3 separate regions of the Homo sapiens genome follow, and all the other regions are linked to region 2. Evidence: promoter capture Hi-C in 16 types of primary human blood cells and fetal thymus (Javierre and others, 2016). All regions are on one chromosome and are shown on one strand. The core of a region is centred on a gene start or on the middle of the fragment in contact, and the rest is flanking DNA. Distances in the headings are between cores, read along the strand shown. Region 1 has its middle 1.6 kb from the start of MYO10. Region 2 holds the start of ZNF622 (zinc finger protein 622). Region 3 overlaps MYO10 (myosin X).

Region 1 (2,861 bases), core at 335-2,834, 470 kb after region 2:
GAAGCAGCCGCAGGCTCGTTAGCGGACCCGGGAGGGGGCCGCGTGTTTCCCCAGGTCTTCCCACGTAGGCGTGGGGAGGGGATTTAACTCTTCCCTCTGCAGAGAGAGACTAAACAATCACTTAGAGGGGAGGAGAAGGGACTGGGGGCTTCTGTGCCTTTCATGTTTAGCAGACCCGGGAACCGGCTCAACACGGATCTCATTAATGCAGCCCGGTAGACTAGCAATCTCGGGAAGGAAGCGCGGTCAGCGGAGCTGCCGGGGCTGCGGGGCCAGATCAAAGCGGAAGACGGAGGCTAATCAGAATTTCTGGAAGCTGCATTCCCGTGTTGACTTTCTGTCCTGCAGTCGGGTTTGCTTAAGACGTTTGCGTAACAGCGGGGAAATGTAGTTTTGAAACTGGAAGGGGACGTGGCCAATATCACCTTTAAAAATGTAACCCTTTTCTAGACCTCAAGGAAGCAGAGATGGCAGATGGCACTGAGATGGACGAATGATCAAACCCACCTGGCACTGAGTCCCGTTTCCCCTAGGGCAGTTCTTTTAACTTTATGCTGTGCGAGGGTCACCTGGGAACCTTGTTAGAACGCAGGCTGGAACAATCTGCTTTCCAGGTGCCCCTCAGGTGCTACCTGGTCCTGTGCTGAACGAAAGCTTGTAACAAGTAGAGAAATTAAGAGTAAACGTTTGTAGCAATTTAATAATGCCACGACATCCAAGCACATGATCAGTGGACTCTTTGAACCGAGTATAAACCAGTTTGGGTGTTGTCAGACTCACGTGGTGAGTCACACCTGGCGCCGCAGTGTATTGGTACCTGGCCGACTGGGAACAAAAATGGCTGGTTCTTCAGCACAAAAGATTTGAGATGCTCTCTCCAGGGAATTTGCCAACTGCTACTCAACCTTTAAAACTCAGCTCACAAAGTCACACCTTCCAGGGGAAGGAACCCTTCCCAAAGATGCTACTCCACTCACCCCACCCAAGCTCCCCGTAACCACTGGGCTAGATGCCCACTCTAGGATTTATTCCTAAGACTGTTGGGGAAGGACTGTGCTTTAAGATGAGTATCCCCAGGCTGTCTCACAGCATGAATGAATGAATGAAACATCCTTCTGTAATCCTTATGGGGAAAGTCAAGCATGTTTGTAACTTATCCCAGTCCAGTTCTTCACCATTAATATCATTGCTCCCACCTCACTTCCCTTTAGAAAGAGTCAAGGTGTAAATTAGTTAATGATATTGTGCAATGTTGTTCTGTTTCACAGGTTTACACGCTTAAGGCGCTGAGCCATTAAAGCTTGTGTCCAAGGTCGCAAGGAAAGTGAAGATGGAGTCAGGATAAATACCAACAATCCCAGTGCTTAGTCAAATGGGTCCTGCAACCACTGGTGTTCAGATACTGGAGCAGAACAATTACAGTCATTATGGTATTAATCTGCACACAACATCTCTGCCAGAGAAATTACCAGGGAGATTGTTGAAGTGAGTGTGTGGGTGTGACGTGGTTCCCAGCATCAGCCCAGCCACTGATACGTTGGGCAACCTCGCCATGTCATTTCAAAAGTCACTTTCCATATCGGCTCATCAGTTATAACAAATGTACCACACTAATGCAACATGTTAATAATAGGGGCAAGTGAGGGTGAGGGGCTGGGAGGGGTCTATGGACACTCTCTGTACTTTCTGGCCAATTTTTATGTAAGCCTAAAACTGTTTTTTTAAAGTCTACTAATCTTTTAAAGGTGATTTTCCTGCCAATTATGAAGATATCGTTAATAATTGCCCCCAATTTGACTCACGTAAAGAATGGTGAGCCAGATCCAATATATAAAGTTTAGATTTTACTGAATCATTTTATTTCTTCAAAAAGCTTACATCATCAGTTAACAGGGTAAGAAAGTTAAAAAAAAAAACTTACATCAATGTTTTATCAATGTTGATCCCTAGATCACCTTATCAGTTGCTAAAAAGAAAAAAAAACTGACTCCAAATCTCTGTGGCAAATTGATTTCCTAAGAATTTGCATTTTTTATTTCTTTACCTGTGGATTATATTGAAAGAATTTGCATTTTAATAAGCACCCCGATAACCAGTTCAGAGCTTGGGAATCGCCACTTTATCAGAATTCATCAGCTTTTCTATATATCCCCATATTCTCAAAAAGGTGTAAGATAAGCTGTGGCAGCGAAACTCTTACTTGCTGAACAGCAAAATGCATGTTCTAAATAAGATATCTAACCCTCAAGTATCTGGGGTTGAATCAGTTGTTAAAAAGCAGCGTGTTAAATTTATAAGGGCTTTGACAGGATTGGACAGAGACTGGGAAGCATTTTAAATCAATAGATTTCTAAGAATATCTAGTCTTATTACCATTTCTTAAAATTTGAGTGCTTCCTCTGAGAGAGTTGTGCTAACCACTGGACAAAGCAGTTTAGACCAAATCTATTAAACCCTGCCCTCTGAGAAGCGACAGAGGCACAAGAATGGTAATAATAGAAGGATGAGTGTGTTTCCATGAGGCAAAGGTCTGTCTCAACTCTCTGTCCTACCTGTCTTTCAAATAAACCAGGCTAACAGAGTATGACATTTTCAAAATAAAACACCCCCAAAAGCTCAAGTTAAGTTATCTTATTTAGTGGCATACATTAATCTACAATCAACAAAATTTTAATACTGATTGGATCATTTCCCCACTGAAAGAGAGAGTTGCATATGTATATTTGTGAGTTAAGTAATAACAATCTTCTGTTTTTGTTCTCCACCAACAGTTTGTTCGTTTTTAGTTGAAACGGGTTGTCTCATTTCCTTTGTGAATTCAAACTGAGTTCCTTTTGTTGTTGCTGCTGCTGCCATTCCTT
Region 2 (2,714 bases), core at 141-2,640:
CCCAATTTCCAGAACTATGGGAAAATACATTTATGTTGTTCATAAATCACCCAGTCTCTAGTACTTCCTTATAGCAGAGTGGACAGACTAAGACATGAACACCTACACCAGCACTGTTAATAGGATGTGGGATGAGGGAAGTAAGGAATAAATAGCTCATAAAGGCAAAGAGGTGAGGGTGCTGGCTCCAGCTCCAAATTTCTGGCTGAGTTGGTTTTGATCCCCTCATTCTGTTTTACTCAACTAAATTAAGTGCAAAACCATCATAACTGGAAACCCACTAGAATCGCAAATTACACGGCAGCTGGTATGACGATAGCATGTCCTCCTGTGCATATGTTAAAAGCCTCTTCATCCAAAACACAGAAGGCATCAATTCATTCTCCAAATATGCATTAAGCACTTCTTTTTCCAGACAAGGTTTTAGGCCTTGGAGAATGAATTGAGTGAACTAAACAGCCAAACCTGCTGGCCAGATAAGGCACTTCAGAAAGCGTCTAAACCACCTTCCCTCATCATTTTTACTTAAAAGCTCTCAAACACACACACACACCCATCTCGAGTATAAATCTGGAAACTTAAGGGTGGGCCAAGTTCCTCTTTACCCTCCCCGCCCAGACAGGGCCATCACCGTCTCCATCCAGGTCCTCTTCCTCCTCCTCGCTGTCCTCCTCCTGCTGCTTTGCCAACTTCTTCGCCTGCTGTTCAAACCACTGGAGCCGGGGTGGTTTCTCACTCGGGTCTCGGTCGTGGGTCCCACGGCCACCAGTACCCACGGCCACGACATTCCTGGCCTCCTTTGCAGGCGCTGGGGGCGCCTTCTTGGGAGACATGGACGGCTGGGCCTTGATGGCCTGCTGGATGGCCGCGTTCATGGCATCCTTGTCCACACTGTCCACGCCCAGTCCTTTCTCCAAGTTCTTTTCATTCATCATCTCCACTTTCCGATTCACTGCCTGCACGGCCTTCTTCTCCAGCTCAACGTGACGCCGGGACTTGAGGTGGTTCTCGTAGGCGTTGAAAGAGGCAAACTTCTTACTGCAAACGGTGCAGTAGGTGGCCGAGCCCTTGCTCTCCTCCTCCGCGACGGCCCGCTGCGCCCGCACTCGCTCCTGGAAGCCCTCGGCGGTCACTGGGGCCATGCTGGCCACCTTCCGCCGCAGGTTGTAGCGGTGCCAGTCCGTCTTATAGTGGGCCCGCTGCATGTCCGCGTCGCGGAACGCCACCCGGCAAGTTATGCAGGTGTACGTCGCCATTGCCAGGCGAGAAATAAGAACCGACCAAGCCAAACACCTGGTGATCAGCGCCGTGGCCCCACAAGACCCTCAGACCTTAACCCGCCTCAGCAGCCAGGAAGAGCCACTCGACACGCCGACTTCCTGATTGTCACTGAGGAAACTTCCGGCACACGTCGGAAGTTATTCACAACTGGACAGGAAACCCGCCTCTCAGGCTGTGGCCACGCCTCCGCCGCCGTGAGGCCCAGGAAGCCGAGGGAACGCTGTGGCTGAAAGGGACCTGGGTCCGCTCAGTCAGCCCGAGGTGGCTGTTGATTGAGGGAGGTCGCGCCCTCCCAGTTACCTTCCCTGGTGGTTGTGCCGCTCGGTGTGACGCGGTCAAGGGGACGGCTACGCGAGAATGGGGGAGTGGGGCGCCCGAGGCTGCTCCTGGGCCCTGGGAAGCCCCCGATTAATGAATGGTCGGGTCAGCGACGCGAGGGTCGGGGTTTCTCTGAGGACCGCGCGCTGCACCTGCGGAGCCGGGTGAATGGATGTCGCGAAGGCAAGGGCTGCCCTTACCCCTCGGGGCCGACCTCGGAGCCCTCGCCCGTGGTTGCAACGCTTTCCCGGGAAACCGGAGAAGCCAGGCCGGGGGCTCGGCCTTTCTGAGGCGGCCCTTCCGGCGGAGGACACCGGCGGAATTTGAGTGCACAGAGTGCGCGAGAGGAGCTCCCTGTAGACACACAGTCCAAGCCACGTAGGTAATTCTAATAGCAGCCACATTTTTAAAGAGTAAAGAGAAATCGGTGAAACTGCTTTTAATGTGTTTAATTTAGCCCATCCTGTCATTTCAGCATGTAATCAGTCTAAAAGAATTAATTAGATCTTTTACGCTCTGTCGTTGGTTCTAAGTCTTGGAAATCCAGTGTGTGTTTTAGAGTTAACAGCCCATCTCAATTTGGACTAGACCCGTGCCAGGTGCCCAGTTGGCTGTGTACCCTCATGTATATAGGACAGCAAAGTTCTGTAGAAAAGAACTTCAGGCCAGGCGCGGTGGCTCACGCCCGTAATCCCAGCACTTTGCGAGGCCGAGGCGGGCGGATCATCTGAGGTCAGGGGTTCAAGACCAGCCTGGCCAACATGGCGAAACCCAGTCTCTGCTAAAAAATACAAAAATTAGTCCCGGCGCAGTGGCGCAGACCTGTAATCCCAGCTACTTGGGAGGTTGAGGCAGGAGAATCGCTTGAACCCGGGAGGCGGAGGTTGTGGTGAGCCGAGATCGCGCCACTGCACTCCAGCCTGGGCAACAGAGCAAGATTCCATCTCAAAAGAAAAAGAAAACATGAACTTCAAATGCTTGGGGAGGTCGTAGATTTCATCCACACAGCCTGGTTGAACCAGAGTCAGCCTTGTTAGAGTCGAATGTTGCATGCTCAGAATCCAGGCTGCCAAGAGAAAACCAAAAGAAGATGGCGCTTTAAAAAACCTTCCAGT
Region 3 (2,828 bases), core at 265-2,764, 290 kb after region 2:
CATCATCACACCTGAAAAGATGACATTAATTCCTTAAACTAATATTAAAATGTGCAATGGTCTCACATTTCATATTAAAATGCTCAACTGCTTCAAATTTTATGATTTTTAAAAATTTTATTATTTATTTATTTATTTGAGACAGGGTCTCATTCTGCCACCCAGGCTGGAGTACAGTGGTGTGATCACAGCTCACGGCAGCTTCAACCTTCCAGACTCAAGTGATCCTCCTACCTCAGCCTCCTGAGTAGCTGGGAATACAAGGGCATGCCGAATAACTTTTTAATTTTTTTTGTAGAGATGAGGCCTCGCTATGTTGCCCAGGCTGGTCTCGAACTCCTCGACTCAAGCAATCTTTCCACCTAGGCCTCCTAAAGTGCTGGGATTACAGGCATGTGTCACCATGCCCAGCCCATAAATTTTAAAGGGTTTGTTCTTTTGCATCAAAATGCAAATATGGTCCATTCATTGTAATTGGTGGATGCATCTTTTCAGTCTCTTTTAATCCACTGGCTTTCCCTCCATCTGTCTCTTTTTTCTTCTCATAATCTTGTTGAAGAAAACTGAACTGTCTGAACACTACATGGATTAATTACTTCTCCAGCTCAGAAAACTTTAAAATTTCTCACAAGACAAAACATCCTGACATTCACGGCCCTTCATATTTTGATACCATCTTAAATTCTCACGAGGTGTCCTGTCCGGCTGGTGTTCTACTGTCTGTTGACAGTCCTCAGAGACAGGACTTGCATCTCTGTGTCTGGGCTCTTCTCCTGCCTTCGCCTGCACCTGGAAAGCTCACCCACCCTTTTCCATTTCCTTCACTGCTAGTCCAGTTTAAAGTCTCAAACATTTCAAAAACCCAAGGGTGGGTGCAGTGGCTCACGTCTGTAATTCCAGCACTTTGGGAGGCTGAGGCAGGAGGATCGCTGGAGGCCAGAATTTTGAGATCAGCCTGGGCAACATAATAAGACCCCATCTCAGTAAAACATCTAAAAATTAGCCGGGTATGAAAAATTAGCCATGCGTAATGGCGCATGCCTCTAGTCCCAGCTACTTGGGAGGCTGAGGCAGAAGAATCTCTTGAATCTGGGAGGTAGAGGTTGCAGTGAGCTGAGATCGTGCCATTGCATTCCAGCCTGGGTGACAGAGCGAGACTCTGCCTTTAAAAAAAAAAAAAAAAAAAAAAAAGTCGGGTGTAGTGGCTTACACCTGTAGTGCCAGCTACTCAGGAGGCTGAGGGGGGAGAATCACTTGCGCCTGGGAGTTTGAGGCTGCAGTGAGGCGTGATTACACCACTGCACTCCAGTCTGGGTGACAGAACAAGACCCTGTCTCACACACACACAAACACACACACACACGCACACACACACACACACACACACACACGGAAAAAAAAAAAGCTTTCTCAGAGAAGTCCTGGCAAACCGACCTTCTAGAAAAAGAAAACTGAAAACCTCTGCTGGAAGATTAAGAGCCTAGGACAAGGTAACTGACATCAGTCTCATCTAACCAGGGGGAAAAAACATCCAGATATGAGAAGAAATATATCCCATTTCCACATGAGTCTCTAAATACAAATCAGAGTGGTCCCAAATGGCCTTAAGGAGTTTGCTATTTCAAAAGCTTAGAAGAAATAGCCATTTATTTTTTTAAAAAGGATCTACATGTTTTCATCTGACTCAGAGAAAAAGTCTATTTTATTTCTTTTCTCTCTTTTTTTAGACAGAGTCTAGGTCTTACGCTGTCACCCAGGCTGGAGTGCAGTGGTGCAATCACAGCTCTCTGCAATCTTGATCTCCCAGGCTCAGGCAATCCTCCCACCTCAGCCTCCTGAGTAGCTGGGACTACAGGCATGCGCCACCGCACCCAGATAATTTCTGTATTTTTTGTAGAGACAGGATTTCACCATGTTGCCCCGGCTGGTTTTGAACCCCTGAGCTCAGGTGATCTGCCCACCTCGGCCTCCCAAAGTGCTGAGAATACAGGCGTGAGCCAAAACTCTATTTTATTTCTAAAGCACTATCTGGTTTAAAAGCATGATATAAAAGGAAACAAAAATAAACAAATATTCTCATAGACTTCACATACACCCAAATCCTCTTTTCAGTTCTTAAAAATACAGTAACGACGGATTCCTCTAAGCCAGCAGTGAAAACGAACCTTGAACTGTGAGCTGACTGTAGGCCGCCGATGTTTGCTTCCACATTTCAAGGTATCCTGGTTGTTGCGGCTTGAAACATGTTCAAAAAGATCGTAGATAAAGTCAAATCTGTGTGAGGCAAGAGCAGGAGGTCAGTGAGGCACACACACCCATTATTAGGTGCAAGATTATTGTAATTAATGGTGCCCTTTCTCAATGATAATTCAAAGTAATACACCCTAGGCCTGGAAGAACTAAGACAGCTTCCAAAGATTTCAAACCAAACACTGCCAAAGAGCTTTAGGCACTGAAAACACGTGGCAGTGTCAGAGACCAGAGTCTTGCAGAGAAGGGGACTGGCATGACAGTGACAAAGGGTGGAATCCCACTTAGGAGCTCTGTGCTTTCTGGAATGCCATCTAAGCCTCTGTAGCCTCGGTCTCCTCACTTGCAAAAGTGAGTTATTAGTTTTGCCATCTTGCAGTGTTGCAAAGATTGAAGCAGTTAACGGATGGAAAGGTGCTCCTGGGGAACACTAATTACAGGGTGAGGCAGGCGATGGTTCAAATCCTGTCTCCCCACTTCCCAGCTGTGTTGCTTGGGCAAGATGTTTCATCTCTCTCTAAGCCTCAGTTTTTTCATCTGGAAAATGGAGATAATTTTTTAATTTATCCCCTAATGCC

What was found. The method cuts DNA at HindIII sites, captures the fragments that hold promoters and counts their contacts. A CHiCAGO score of 5 or more calls a contact.
Region 1: a contact is called between a fragment that was not itself captured here and the fragment with the promoter of ZNF622 in region 2, in 1 of 17 cell types (fetal thymus). The highest score is 5.6, in fetal thymus.
Region 3: a fragment that was not itself captured here is called in contact with the fragment with the promoter of ZNF622 in region 2 in 4 of 17 cell types (non-activated CD4 T cells, naive CD8 T cells, naive CD4 T cells and 1 more); the score reaches 7.0 in non-activated CD4 T cells.

What each region holds. Positions count from the first base shown.
Region 1 is chr5:16,936,469-16,939,329 of GRCh38, forward strand. No RefSeq gene overlaps it. Among named protein-coding and RNA genes, the nearest start is that of MYO10, 1.6 kb to the left of the region's middle. The HindIII fragment of the contact is 573 bases long and covers 1,299-1,871 here.
Region 2 is chr5:16,464,410-16,467,123 of GRCh38, forward strand. It overlaps ZNF622 (zinc finger protein 622), which reads right to left and starts at 1,391. Exons shown (of 6, transcript NM_033414.3): 1 at 632-1,391. The coding sequence starts at 1,256. RefSeq lists an enhancer at 699-768 and a silencer at 2,576-2,714. The HindIII fragment of the contact is 4,211 bases long and covers 1-2,714 here.
Region 3 is chr5:16,755,953-16,758,780 of GRCh38, forward strand. It overlaps MYO10 (myosin X), which reads right to left. Exons shown (of 41, transcript NM_012334.3): 18 at 2,166-2,274. Among named protein-coding and RNA genes, the nearest start is that of RETREG1, 140 kb to the left of the region's middle. The HindIII fragment of the contact is 223 bases long and covers 1,404-1,626 here.